Regions from separate parts of the Homo sapiens genome. Here region 1 is linked to region 2. Evidence: promoter capture Hi-C in human tissues and cell types (Jung and others, 2019). All regions are on one chromosome and are shown on one strand. Each heading gives the region's core, a stretch centred on a gene start or on the middle of the fragment in contact. The rest is flanking DNA. Distances are from core to core; before and after follow the strand shown.

Region 1 (6,909 bases), core at 4,125-6,624, 630 kb before region 2:
AGAAAAGAGACTGGACTAGGTAGCTCACGCCTGTCATCCCAGCACTTTGGGAGGCCGAGGTGGGCAGATCACCCAAAGTCAGGAGTTTGAGACCAGCCTGACCAATATGGTGAAACCCCATCTCTACTAAAAATACAAAAAAAAAAAAATTAGCTGGGCATGGTGGCACGTGCCTGTAATCCCAGCCACTTGGGAGGCTGAGGCAAGAGAACTGCTCGAACCTGGGAGGCGGAGGCTGCAGTGAGCCGAGATTGTGCCATTGCTCTCCAGCCTGGGTGACAGAGCAAGACTCCATCTCAAAAAAAAAAAAAAAAGAAGAAAGAAGGAAAATAAAATCATGGCTAAGTTTTTTCTTTGTGTTCCGCTATCCAAATTATACCCATCAAGACCCTCTCTGGAGAGGTGGCACCTTTGAGCTGGCAAGAGTGGCTTATCCCTAGGCGTCAGGGACAAAGGACTGCACCATTGCAGGCTGCTACTTCTTTTTTTGTTTTTGTTTGTTTGTTTTTGGTTTTGTTTGCTTTGTTTTGAAAGACAGAGTTTCACTCCGTTGCTCAGACTGGAGCGCAATGGCACAATCTTGGCTCATGGCAACCTCTGCCTCTCCAGTTCAAGTGATTCTTGGGCCTCAGCTTCCCGAGTAGCTGAGACTACAGGTGCGTGCCACCATGCCCAGCTAATTTTTGTATTTTTAGTAGAGATGGGGTTTCGCCATGTTGGCCCAGGCTGGTCTTGAACTCCCAAACTCAGGTGATCTGCCCACCTTGGCCTCCCAAAGTCACCACTTCTGTGCCTCTCTTCAGATGTGTTGTGTTGGTTCCATCCTCTGAGAAGCAGGCAAGGTGGGCCAGATGTGCAAATGATTTATTGAGGAAAACCCTTGGGAGGGACCAAGAAGGAGGGAGGAAGAGGAAGCTGGGAAGATCATCAGACTGTACTAGATCTAACACGTGGAAAAGAGAGACAGAAGGAAGGATGATGGGAGAGGAAGAGTCTTCAACTGCAGTGCAGTGAGAAAGTTTTTACAAAGTCAAGGGGGAGTCCTTGATCCAAAGCTGCCTGTTCGAGGAGTCCTGTGTCTCCACGAACAGACGCGCCTTAGTTCTTTGGCTGGGATCAGCTCGTGGGAAGCAAACCAGAGCCTTCCTGTGTGAACCACAGATGGGTTTCACAGCTGCTGCCCTTGGTCAATGACTTTTCCTGAAGTCAGAGGTCTGAATGGCACATTTTCAGGGCCGTCACCTTCCATCCCTTGCACTACTCAGCTCTACCATGGATCCTGTGAGCCTCTCTTTCTATGGGAAAACTTTGAAGAGGGAGATTAGTGGAACATGCTAGAGCCCCCGCCTCCTTGCTGCAGTTATCGAGAGGCCATAACCAGCGCTTGTTCTTTCTTTCTTCACTATCCATTCTAAATTATCCACACTCTCCACCGTCGCCTTGGCAGGCCTTGGTGGGTTACCTGGTGATGTGACCCGACCCTTCAGTCCTGAGGGACCTAAATTATTGGTTATTGTAACCCATGGATCACTGGATTCCCATATATTCCTCCTTGTCCTCCCACTGTAAAAGCAGCCCTGCCCTCTCTGCTGACCAGGGTCAGTTAGTGCAGCCATGCTGGTGCCCTCTCTTCTCACCTGCTGGTCCCAGAACACATGGAGTCCAAAGTTTCCCAGCCCCGGCCACAGCTTAAATTTAATGGGACCCATGCTGTGTCCCCTGGCTAGAGCATACCCTCTTTGGGGACCAGGACTTCCCTCCCTGTAGAACTGAGAGGGAGTCGGGAGGGGGACTTAATTACCCACAATGCATGCCAGCAAACCTTTACTAACTGCACTATGGGTAATCAAAGCCCCAGATAAGGAATCAGGGAAGGTTTCCGCAGAAGGTGGCCTTGAACTGGGCAACCCTTGATTAACTGTGGCTAGGGGCACTGCAAAGCTTGATTTGACTCCTCCCCTCTCTAGGTCTGTTTCTTCCTCTGCAAAAAGAGGAAAGTGCTCTCTAAGTGCTAACATTCTGAGACTCAGCTTTTAGACACAGAATGTTTTCTTCCTGCTTTCTCCCTCTCCAGCCCCCTCTTCTGCACACCCAATAACTCAAATCCCTCTATTAGTTTATTTACGGCACTAAGGCCTTGGAGAGGATTAGAACAAAGTTAGAATGAAATCCGAAACTCCTCTACATTGGCAGGACAAGGAGTGTGGGAGAGGAAGGGAAGACACAGAGTTCTTAGAAGAGAACTTGTTTGGAAAACAAGGAGGAAGGGAAAGGTGTTCCAGACAGAGGAAACCGAGTAGACAAAGGCGTGGAGGTATCAAAAGCAGATGTCAGGCCGGGTGAGGTGGTTCACACCTGTAATCCCAGCACTTTGGGAGGCTGAGGTGGACAGCTCACCTGAGGTCGGGAGTTCAAGACCAGCCTGGCCAACAATGGCAAAACCTCATCTCTACTAAAAATACAAAAATTAGCCAGGCGTGGTGGTACACACCTGTAATCCCAACTACTTGGGAGGCTGAGGCAGGAGAATCACTTGAACCCGGGAGACGGAGGCTGCAGTGAGCCAAGATTGTGCCATTGCACTCCAGCCTGGGCAATAAGAGTGAAACTCCATCTCAGAAAAAAAAAAAAAACAAAAACAAACAGATGTCAGGGCTGGGCGTGGTGGCTCACACTCGCAATCCCAGCGCTTTGGGAGGCTGAGGTGGATGGAAGGCTTAAGCTCAGGAGTTCAAGACCAGCCTGGGCAACATGGCAAAACCCCATCTCTACAAAAAATACAAAAATTAGCTGAGCCTGGTGGTGCACACCTGTAGTCCTAGTTACTTAGGGGGCTGAGGTGGGAGGATCACTTGATCCCAGGAGGTTGAGGCTGTAGTGAGCCATGATTGCACCACTACACTCCAACCTTGGTGACAAAGTGAGACCCTGTCTCAAAAAAAAAAAAAAAAGACAGAGGCAGATGTCCTAGAATAGCGTGGCTGAGGTCAAGGCCGAATGGAGAAGAGAGGTCCTTTGTAGGGGAATGGAGAGCAGGCTCTAAATGTTAAGGGCTTTGAATGCCAGGATAAGTAAGGTTAGACTTTACCCTGATGGTACACAGGAAGTCCTTGGCAGTTTTATGTAAGACAGCAACCCAACCCCATTTGTATTTTACAGACCTGATGATCCCAAAGGATTTGGATTCTAGAAAAAAGACAATCACCAGGCACGGTGGCTCATGCCTGTAATCCTAGCACTTTGGGAGGCTGAGGTGGGTGGATCACTTGAAGTCAGGAGTTTGAGACCAGCCTGGCCAACATGATGAAACCCCGTCTGTAGTAAAAATACAAAAATTAGCCAGGCATAGTGGCACACGCCTGTAATCCCAGCTACTCAGGAGGCTGAGCCAGGAGAATCACTTGAACCCCGCAGGCAGAGGTTGCGGTGAGGCAAGATCGTGCCATTGCACTCCAGGCTGGGCAGCAGAGCAAGACTCTGTCAAAAAAAGAAGGAAGGTAGGAAGGCAGGAAGGAAGGAAAGAAGAAAGGAAGGAAGGAAGGGCGGGGAGAGAAAAAGAAAGAAAGGAGAAGAGAAGAGAAGAAAAGAAAAGAGAAAAAAGACAATCTAGACAGAGGCAGGAGGCCGACAAGTTAAGAACTGAAACAATATTCTCAATGGTAGAGGTTGCCAACCTATGGTCTGGGGGCCAGATTTGTCTGCAAAGTGTGTTTCATTTGGCCCATTCAATATTTCCGAATTTTGGGAATTCGTTTCAAACATTTAAAAGTTGGAAGATTTCTGGATGTCCTGCTTCTCTTTGAATATCATCCAGCCACGCACAGCCCACGATGTCTCCAGTTCCCCTCTTCTCCACCCTCTCTATCACTTTACATGCGACCCCAGTCGCTCATGTCTGCGCCTGTAGGTACTTGCGTTTGCAATCCCTGGCTCCTAAAGCTCTGGAAACAGTCGGGAGTGGCTGGGAGGATTACGCTGGGTTGAGAAAACAGCCTGATCAAAAACTTAGAAGAAATAGGGGCAGTCATAAAAAATGATGAGTTCATGTCCTTTGTAGGGACATGGATGAAGCTGGAAACCATCATTCTCAGCAAACTATCGCAAGGACAAAAAACCAAACACCGCATGTTCTCACTCATAGGTGGGAATTGAACAAAGAGAACACATGGACACAGGAAGGGGAACATCACACACCAGGGACTGTTGTGGGGTGGGGGGAAGGGGGAGGGATAGCATTAGGAGATATACCTAATGCTAAATGACGAGTTAATGGGTGCAGCACACCAACATGGCACACGTATACATACGTAACAAACCTGCATGTTGTGCATATGTACCCTAAAACTTAAAGTATAATAATAATTAAAAAAAAGAATGAAAAAGAAATGCTTTTGAAGCTTGAAGCTAAAAAAACAAAAAAAAAAGAAAGAAATAGGGAAGGCGTCCTATTGGGGCTTTCTCACTAGGGAAAGAGTGAGCTGCAGGGAGGAGAAAGAACAGGGCCTGGAAGGACGAGCTGTCCCTATCTCATCTCTGTCCCCATCCACCCACTTCATCCAGGCCACCAATTTCCGGTTATCAAACAGACAATGCAACATCCCTTACACCTGCTGTACCTCTGCCTAGAATCTCCTTTCTTCCCTTCTATCCGGCGAGCAGTTCCTCCCAGCTGCACTCCTGGACTAGTCACTGCCTATTTGCAGCAGGGATCGCAAAGGCGACCTCAGTTGGATAGGGCAACCACCCAGGCCCAAGTTTATGACCTCTTCCCCAAGAAGACTGTGAGTTCTCTGACGTCTCGCTGGAAATAGGATGCATGGATGGATGGATGGATGGATGGACGGACGGATGGATGGATGGATGGAAGCGCAGGCAGGCAGGCGGACGCATGGATGAATGAAATGCATATCCGAATGCAGAACCTGGATTTGTTTTCCCTCCTTCAAACACACACAGGCTCCGCCCCACTAGCACAGACCGGGACAGTCTGGGGCAGTCTCGTCCCGCAGGGCCCAGAAAGCTGGACCAGGTGACCCTCTCAGACTCCCCCGAGTCCTCTGTAACCTCGTTCTCGCCCCCTCGTGGGCTCTGACCTAGAAAAGGAGTGGGGTGGGTGGGGGGTGGGGGGTGGGAGCCAGCTCGGGAGCCACCGGCGCTAGGACCCAGCGCGGCCGGAAGGGGGTGGGGGCGCCGCGCGGGGAGAATCTGCGCTCCGCGGCGCGCGGCGGGAGGGCGGGCGCGCGGCGGGTGAGCGCGCTTGCGCGAGGGCGCGCGCCGAGCGGGACGGACAAAGGGGCGGGCGGCGGCGCGCGAGCCGGAGGGCGGAGCCGCGGGCCGGGCGGGCAGGTGCGCGCTGGCTGGAGGGCGGAGCCGCGATGCCGCGATGGAGCGCAGCCCGGGCGGGCGCCGGGGCCGGGGCCCGAGCGCCAGGCGGAGCGCGAGCTGGAGCCGCAGCCGGAGCCCGGGCCAGGCCGGGGGCCGGGAGCGCAGGGCCGGGCTGCTCGTAGCGGCGGCGACCGAGCCCCCCAGCGGCTGAGGGGCTTCCAGCGCCCGCCGGTGGCCGGGACCCACTAAAGCCCCCGCAGCCGAGGAGTGCGGGGAGCCCCCTTCCACATCCAGGATCCGGCGAGCCTCGGGGAAGAGGGGGGGCCCTCCCGGATCCGACACCGAGCGACTCCCCTGCGGGGAAAGCGGAGACTTCCTCGGTATTTAGAAGACAGCAAGCCCCCTACGGCACCGCAAGGACTCCCCCTCCTCAGTCTGGGCCCCCGCCCCAAGACCTAGAACGCAGTGCCCCCAGGCCGGGATTGCGAGAACCCCCTCCCAAGATCCGGTCATTACAACTCCACACCTCAAGACAAGAAGACCCAGCTCAGAACGCCCCTAGATCAGGGGATCCCAATTCCCCCCAACTCCGGTACATAGAAATCCCAAATCTAGGCAGCCGGGGACAGCAAGAGACACTCTCACCAGCAAGAAGCCTCGGGGATCCCCCCCCTAAAGCTCCAGGACTTGGGCGACTGAGCCCCTGGCGGCACCGCTTGCACCCCGGTCCATGGTCGTGGCGCCCTGAGCCCCCGGGGCCGGGCAGACGAAGACCGCGACGGCGCCCAGGCCCCCTGCCGCGGCGTCCCCGCGGCCCCAGCCCAGGTAAGCCGGGCCCAGGTGAGGGGCGGCAGGTGAGTGGCCACCGAGGTCCCCATAGCCCTGCAGGTGGGGAAGGAAGTATCGGGTTGCGCGCTCCCCCTTCCCCAGCGTCGCCATGGAGCCGAGGCTGAAGGACGTCTCTTTGTGTCTCGCTTGGAGGAGCCGCCCCCTCCTCCTCTCCCTTCCCCCACCCCACTCCCTAGCCTTGAGGCTCGGGCGCAGCTCCCCGGCCCCACGGAGGAGTGGTGGTGGAGCCCGTTGTGCCATGGAGAGGGGGGAAGAGGGCGGAGAGTCCCCCCCCAAAAGCTGCGAGCCTGGAGGTTGGCCCCCAGGTCCTTGGAGTGTGAATACCCCTCCCCCACGGCCAAGCTGAGCTTCTAGTGAAGTCCCCCCGAGAGGGGAAAATTTGGGGGTGCCCACAGGTGAGGGGGGCTGCCTTATGTGGCCCTGGGTGATGGCTGGGGCTTCGGGTGTGTGTCTTTGTCTGTGAGAGTGCGGGGAAGGGGTGTGTTTGAGCGGATGAATGGGAATCGCATCTTCCCTGTGACTCTGCTGCCCGACCCAGGCCACACTGGCGGTCTTTACCTAAACCATACTTTGTACTCCCTGTGGGACAGGGAGGGAGTAAGTACCCCCCAAAGTGAGGCGCTAGTTTCTGGGGAGGAGAGGTAGCCTAGATGAAGAAGCTATTTCAGGTCAGGGCACCGTTCTGTTCCCATTTGTCCCAGGGACAGCAACCCAAGTCTTTCCCTTCCCCTCCTA
Region 2 (6,494 bases), core at 2,223-4,722:
ACCAGCCTGGCCAACATAGTGAAACCTTGTCTCTACTGAAAACACAAAATTTAACCAGGCATGGTGGTGGGCGCCTGTAATCCCAGCTACTTGGGAGGCTGAGGCAGGAGAATTGTTTGAACCCAGGAGGCGGAGGTTGCAGTGAACCGAGATTGTGCCACCGCACTTCAGCCTGGGTGACTGAGCGGGACTCCGTCTCAAAAAACAAAAAAACAAAAAAAAGAGAGTCAGGGTCTCCCTCTGTCACCCAGGCTGGAGTGCAGTGGTGCAATCATAGTTCACTGCAGCCTTAAACTCTTGGGCTCAAGTGAACCTCCCACCTCACCCTCCCAAGTAGCAGGGACCACAGGCACTTGCCACCATACCCAGCTAAGGGTCTCACTTTGGTGCCCAGGCTGGTCTCAAACTCCTGACCTCAACTGATCCTCCCACCTGAGTAACATGGACTTGTTTGATTTTTGGTAGAACGTGGTCATTTTTTGTTTGTATAGATATTGACCTATTATTGTGCACTAACAGTAGAAGTAAAGGTTCAGCTGGGCCGGGCGTGCTGGCTCACGCCTCTAATTCCAGCACTTTGGGAGGCCGAGGTGGGCGGATCACAAGGTCAGGAGATCGAGACTATCCTGGCTAACACGGTGAAACCCCATCTCTACTAAAAATACAAAAAATGGGGCCGGGCGTGGTGGGTCACCCCTCTAATCCCAGCACTCTGGGAGGTCGAGGCAGGCAGATCACGAGGTCAGGAGATCGAGACCATCCTGGCTAACACAGTGAAACCCCGTCTCTACTAAAAATTAAAAAAAAAAATTAGTCAGGCGTGGTGGCGAGCACCTGTAGTCCCAGCTGGTTGGGAGGCTGAGGCAGGAGAATAGCATGAACCCGGGAGGTGGAGCTTGCAGTAAGCCAAGATCACACCACTGTACTCCAGCCTGGGCGACAGAGTAAGACTCCATCTCAAAAGAAAAGAAAAAAAAAATTAGCCACGTGTGGTGGCACACGCCTGTAGTCCCAGCTACTTGGGAGGCTGAGGAAGGAGAATCGCTTGAACCCGGGAGGTGGAGGTTGCAGTGAGCTGAGACTGCACCACTGAACTCCAGTCTGGGTAACAGTGAGACACTGTCTCAGAAAAAAAAAAAAATAGGTTCAGCTGTTAGGCTGCTTGGTTTCCAACCTTTGGCTGTTTTCCAGCTATATGACCTTGGGCAAGTTATTTAACCTCTCCGGGCCTCAGAGCTTCCTCTGTAAAATGGAGATGGGTAATAGTTCCTGCCTCACAGAGTTTGTTATGAAGATTAGTTACTCATAAAGCATTTAGCTCAGTGCCTGGCACATAGTGAGTGCTCAAAACATGCTACCTGGCCAGGCGCGGTGGCTCACACCTGTAATCCCAGCACTTTGGGAGGCCAAGGCAGGCAGATCGTTTGAGCTCAGGAGTTCAAGACCTGTCTGGGTAACATAGAGAGACCCTGTTTCTACAAAAAAATACTAAAAATTAGCCAGGCATGGTGGCATGCACCTGTAGTCTTGGCTACTTGGGAGGCTGAGGTAGGAGGATCTGCTTGAGCCCAGGAGGTGGAGGTTGCAGTGAGCTGAGATCACACCAGCGTGCTGTGACGCACTCCAGCTTGGGCGACAGAGTGAAACTCTTATTGACTCAAGAAAAAAAAAAAAAGCTAGCTATTGTTATTATTTAGGACACACCTGGCTTTTCTTATATAGTAGATATAACAAGTTTCCCTTAATAAATGTATGTAAACTTTTAAAATGTGGATCTATTTAAAGAACAAATATTAAGTAAACAGCACAGTAAGTTGTACAAGGATGTGTCTACATTGCACAGGCAGGTGGATCCTGAAATGTGGGAAATACAGCCCCAGAGAAGTCTCCAGCCACCAGCAGCTGTTAGAAAGGGAAATCGCATGTTGGGAAGGGAATTTTAGGAAGTTTACTCTGGAAGCCAATGTCAAGGCCACACTATAGAGGAAGATCTGTGAGAAGGTTGGGACAAAAGTCCAGGAGAGAGTTGACGAGAGCCCCACCGCAGCAGGGGCATAGCAGCGGGGGCAGCTCTGACATCTGTTTCAGAGTCTCTGGCTTCTGCTAGAGGAAGGAGAGTAGAAAACAGGATCAGCAGCTGGGGCGTCTGGGGCCAGAGGACCAAGTACAAAGAACGTGGGGCGGAGGTGGGGAAGCTGGTGCATGGCGTGGGGTGGAGGGGGGAGTGTCTGGGGAAGGCTAGAGAGCAGAGCATTAGACTCACAGAGACTGGGCCAGGGCTGATTCTATTTCCCAGAAGTCCAGACTAAAATGAGGTTGGTTTGGGGAACTGAGAAGTTTCTCGCCCATCTTCAGGGTTGATCAATCATCAGTGAGGGACAAGAAATGACATGGGACAAGGCAACAGATAGAAGCTGGGAGCTAAACTTAGCTATAACTGACAGAGCTGCTGCTATCACATGGAGGGCCTCTATGCAAATTTTAAAAGGGCGGCCCTTCCTCTGGGCCATAGGCATGCCCTGTGCCAGGCAGCCCTGCTAACCTATCCCATAGCTTATCTGTGCCCCCAATCCCTTTCTCGTCATGCACTCCCCAGTATGGGGTTGATGGGGAGTCTAGGTGAGTCCCGCGTCTCACCTTTCAGGATGGCCTGCAGCGAGGCCACCTCCTCTTGGCACTGCCGCTGCACCGCAGCCACAGCCTCGGCCTTCGTGCTCTCGCTCACCTCTGCCACAGCCTTCATGGTTTCCATTTCTGCCAGGGCGCCTGCCAGCTCAGCCCGAAGCCGGCTGAGCTCACCTGACTCGGCCTCACCATTTGCCCCTTCCTGGGACCGGGAGTCCTCCAGTGCTGTGGGGGACAGGGATCAGCCTCTCTTCCCATCTCTTACCCCAGGCCACCTACCGGCTTAGCAAGTCCTGCAACCTAGTACTGTTGCCTTCATCTGGGGCCTCCTTCACCTGGGCCCGCCCGGCTCACCTGGCCCCGCCCCTGCCCCGCCCCCTTCCCACTCGCTCTGCCGGGTGCTGCCTACACTCCATCTCTTCGCGGTGGCCAGTTTCACTCAGTCCTCTCTTCGGTCCCACCTGGCCCCGCCCTCCTAGTGGCCGCGCCCCTTCCTCACCGGGCCCCACTTCGCACCTGTCACTGGCCCTACCCCTTCAATGGCCGGGCCACGCCCCCTTTTGCCTGTGGCTGTAGGCCCCGCCCCCTTTCCCGACGGCGTGGCCCCGCCCCTTCCTCCATCATCCCTCTCCACCCCCCATCCGCAGGTGGCTGGCTCGGCCCCGCCCCCAGCATCACCGTTCCCCGCTTGCACGGACGCCCCCTCACGTACCAGCCCCCGGCCGCCGCCGCCGCTCATCGTCGTCCGCGGCCACCGGCGCAGCTGCCGCCATTGCCTCAGCGCAAACGGCGGATTCCCGCACTCCCTGGTGACGGAGCGCACCGCTTCCGGGTCCTCTCGGCTGTTTCCGGATCCGCTCGGCTGTTTCCGGATCGGCCCCGGGCTGGAGGCCCCGGACGGAGGATGGGGGGATTGCCGAGCCTCGGCCGAAGATTCCCGAGTCGGCCCCCGGCCCCGGCCCCGGCCCCGCCCCGGCTCTTCTTGGCTGGGTCGCGCGGTTCGGGAGGACGCCTGCCTTTCAAGCCCGGAAGAGGATCCTTAAGAGGTCTTGCCCGGCGTCTCTCCGTGACCTTGGAAGCCCTGCTCCAATTATGCCTCCTCCGGGACACCGGCCTGCGGAGAGCTCCCCCTCGCTCCCTCGCTGCCCCTGCCCGGAGCCAGCCTTTGATCGGCTCCGGCCGCCCTTCCGCCCGAGCCTGGCTTGCGTTACCGCGAATTGTGGCGGGGCCCTCCCTGCACCTCCGCCCTCTTGGAGCGTCCCTCGGGGCAGGGCCGGGTCGGCTTCATTTTTCTGAGCGCCTCGGAGTCCCCGCGTAGTTAGTCGGAGTCTGAAACTTGCACGTCCCCACCCCCATTTTGTTACTCAGCCAGTCACCGCTTCCTGCTGGCCCCCCTTTCCTCCTCCCAACGCCCTCAAATCCCTCCTCTCCTCTCCGCCTGTGTCTAGATCAGGCTCTTTATCTGTGACCTCCACCCGGACGGTGACAGGCAATTCAGATTTATGTCCAGAGCCTTGGTTCCCCTTCCCTCAAACCTTTTTTCCCTCTGTAAAGGACACGCCAGGAACCTGGAAGTCCTTGATTCTACGTGTCCTCCTGCAAGTCCCGTAAACTCTACTTCCAATGTGCTGACTATTCCAGAATGTGCCCCTTTTTCTCCATCTCCAGCGCTAACACTCCGTCCCAGCTCCCATCACTTCTCCTGAACTTCCGCAGTGTCGACTCCACCCTTTAATTAATTAATTCTCCGTAAAGCAGCTGGAGCGATTTTTGTAAAACAGATAATGCAGTTTGAAAATGGCCAAAGGTAGAACGCTTTTACACTGTTGGTGGGAATGTAAATTAGTTCAACCATTGTGGAAGACAGTGTGGTGATTCCTCAAAGACCTAGAACCAGAAATACCATTTGACCCAGAAATCCCATTACTGGGTATATACCTAAAGGAATATAAATCATTCTATTACAAAGATACATGCACGAGTATGTTCATTGAAGCACTATTCAAAATAGCAAAGACATGGACTCAACCCAAATGCCCATCAATGATAGACTGGATAAAGAAAATGTGGTACATATACACCATGGAATACTATACAGCCATAAAAAGGAACGAGATCATGTCCTTTGCAGGGACATGGATGAAGCTAGAAGCTATTATCCTCAGCAAATTAATGCAGCAACAGAAAGCTAAACATGCATGTTCTCACTTATAAGTGGGAGCTGAACAATGAGAACACATGGACACAGGGAGGGGACCAACACACATGGGGGCCTGTGGGGTGGGTGTTGGGAGGGGGGAGGGAGAGCATCAGCAAGAGTAGCTAATGCATCCTGGGCTTGATACCTAGGTGATGGGTTAATGGGTGCGGTAAACTACCATGGCAGATGTTTCCCTGTGTAACAAACCTGCACATCGTGCACATGTACCCCAGAACTTGAAATAAAGAAAATGGACAAAGGATATGAACGGATATTTCACTGCTGTCACAGGTGGCAATATGTGCATGAAAAGATGTTAAACATCATTAGCTATTTATTCGGGAAATACAAATTAAAACCACAATTGCTTTCATCACTACGCACTTCTTGGAATGGCTAAAATAAGAATGCTAACACCAAATGCTGGTGAGTATGTGGAGAAACTAGGTTTCTCATATTTTGTTGATGGGAATGTGAAATGGTATAGCCACTCTGCAAAAAGAGTATGGCAGTTTTGAACAAAACTAAACACGCACTTACTTTTTCATCAAGTATAAAACCAAGTGTTTTCCACCAAGCTTGGAGCTGAGGTCTCGGCTCAAATGTTACCTCCTCAGTGAGGCCTTCCCTGATCACCCTAACTAAAATAACCACCTCTGGCTGAGTGTGGTGGCTTATGCCTATAATGCTAGCACTTTAGGAGGCCAATGGCAGGAGGATCACTTGAGCCCAGGGGTTCGAGACCAGCCTGAACAACATAGTGAGACCTCATCTCTACAAAAAATTAAAAAATTAGCTGGGCATGGCCGGACACGGTGGCTCACGCCTGTAATCCCAGCACTTTGGGAGGCTGAGGAGGGCGGATCACGAGGTTAGGAGATCAAGACCATCCTGGCTAACATGGTGAAACCCTGTCTCTACTAAAAATACAAAAAATTAGCCGGGCATGGTGGCATGCGCCTATAGTCCCAGCTACTTGGGAGGCTGAGGCAGGAGAATTGCTTGAACCCGGGAGGCAGAGGTTGCAGTGAGCTGAGATCATGCCATTACACTCCAGCCTGGGCAGCAGAGCAAGACTCTGTCTCAAAAAAAAAAAAAAATTAGCTGGGCATGGTGATGTGCATCTGTAGTCCAAGCTACTCAAGAGGCTGAGGCGGGAAGATCTACTTGAGCCCTGGAGGCTGAGGCTGCAGTGAGCATGATTGTGCCACTGCACTCCAGCCTGAGGGAGAGAAAGACCCTGTCTAAAAAAAAAAAAAAAAAATTAAATCCAGACTCCCTGTGCATGCAGCAGGGTTTCTGGGGAAGGGGCTGAAATAATGACTAGAAATCAGCCTCCAGTCAGTTTGGGGAGGGCCTTCCTGACAGCTCTCAGGTTTGAGTTTATCCTGCAGGCCCTGGGAGCCACTGAAGGCCATTGAACAGGGGAAGCACATGACTAACATCAAAGAAGTTCTCTTGACATGCGGAGTGTAGATGGGAACCAAAAGATATAGGGGACAGGGAGCCCAGGAGAGAGGCTGTTGAATTGCTTCTGATTGTGAAGGAAGGATTCAGAGGGGAAAATTGATTCCATCAATATTTAGGATATAAAATGGACTGGCCTTGATGATAGAGTGCATGTGGGGGAAGAGAAAAGAAAATTTCGACCAGATGCGGTGGCTCATGC

The links. Contacts are between HindIII fragments. The study calls those that stand out against the background at their distance.
Region 1: the fragment with the promoter of SBK1 here is called in contact with the fragment with the promoter of RABEP2 in region 2 in 1 of the 25 tissues and cell types used here (lymphoblastoid cells).

What each region holds. Positions count from the first base shown.
Region 1 is chr16:28,287,151-28,294,059 of GRCh38, forward strand. It overlaps SBK1 (SH3 domain binding kinase 1), which reads left to right and starts at 5,375. Exons shown (of 4, transcript NM_001024401.3): 1 at 5,375-6,150. It overlaps LOC124903670 (a long non-coding RNA gene), which reads right to left and starts at 4,915. Exons shown (of 2, transcript XR_007065033.1): 1 at 4,617-4,915. RefSeq lists silencers at 4,867-5,038, 5,246-5,475. The HindIII fragment of the contact is 7,957 bases long and covers 3,170-6,909 here.
Region 2 is chr16:28,921,766-28,928,259 of GRCh38, forward strand. It overlaps RABEP2 (rabaptin, RAB GTPase binding effector protein 2), which reads right to left and starts at 3,473. Exons shown (of 13, transcript NM_024816.3): 1 at 3,338-3,473; 2 at 2,638-2,850. The coding sequence starts at 3,398. RefSeq lists enhancers at 2,605-2,694, 2,725-2,954, 3,933-4,516 and silencers at 3,115-3,334, 3,365-3,714. The HindIII fragment of the contact is 23,237 bases long and covers 1,187-6,494 here.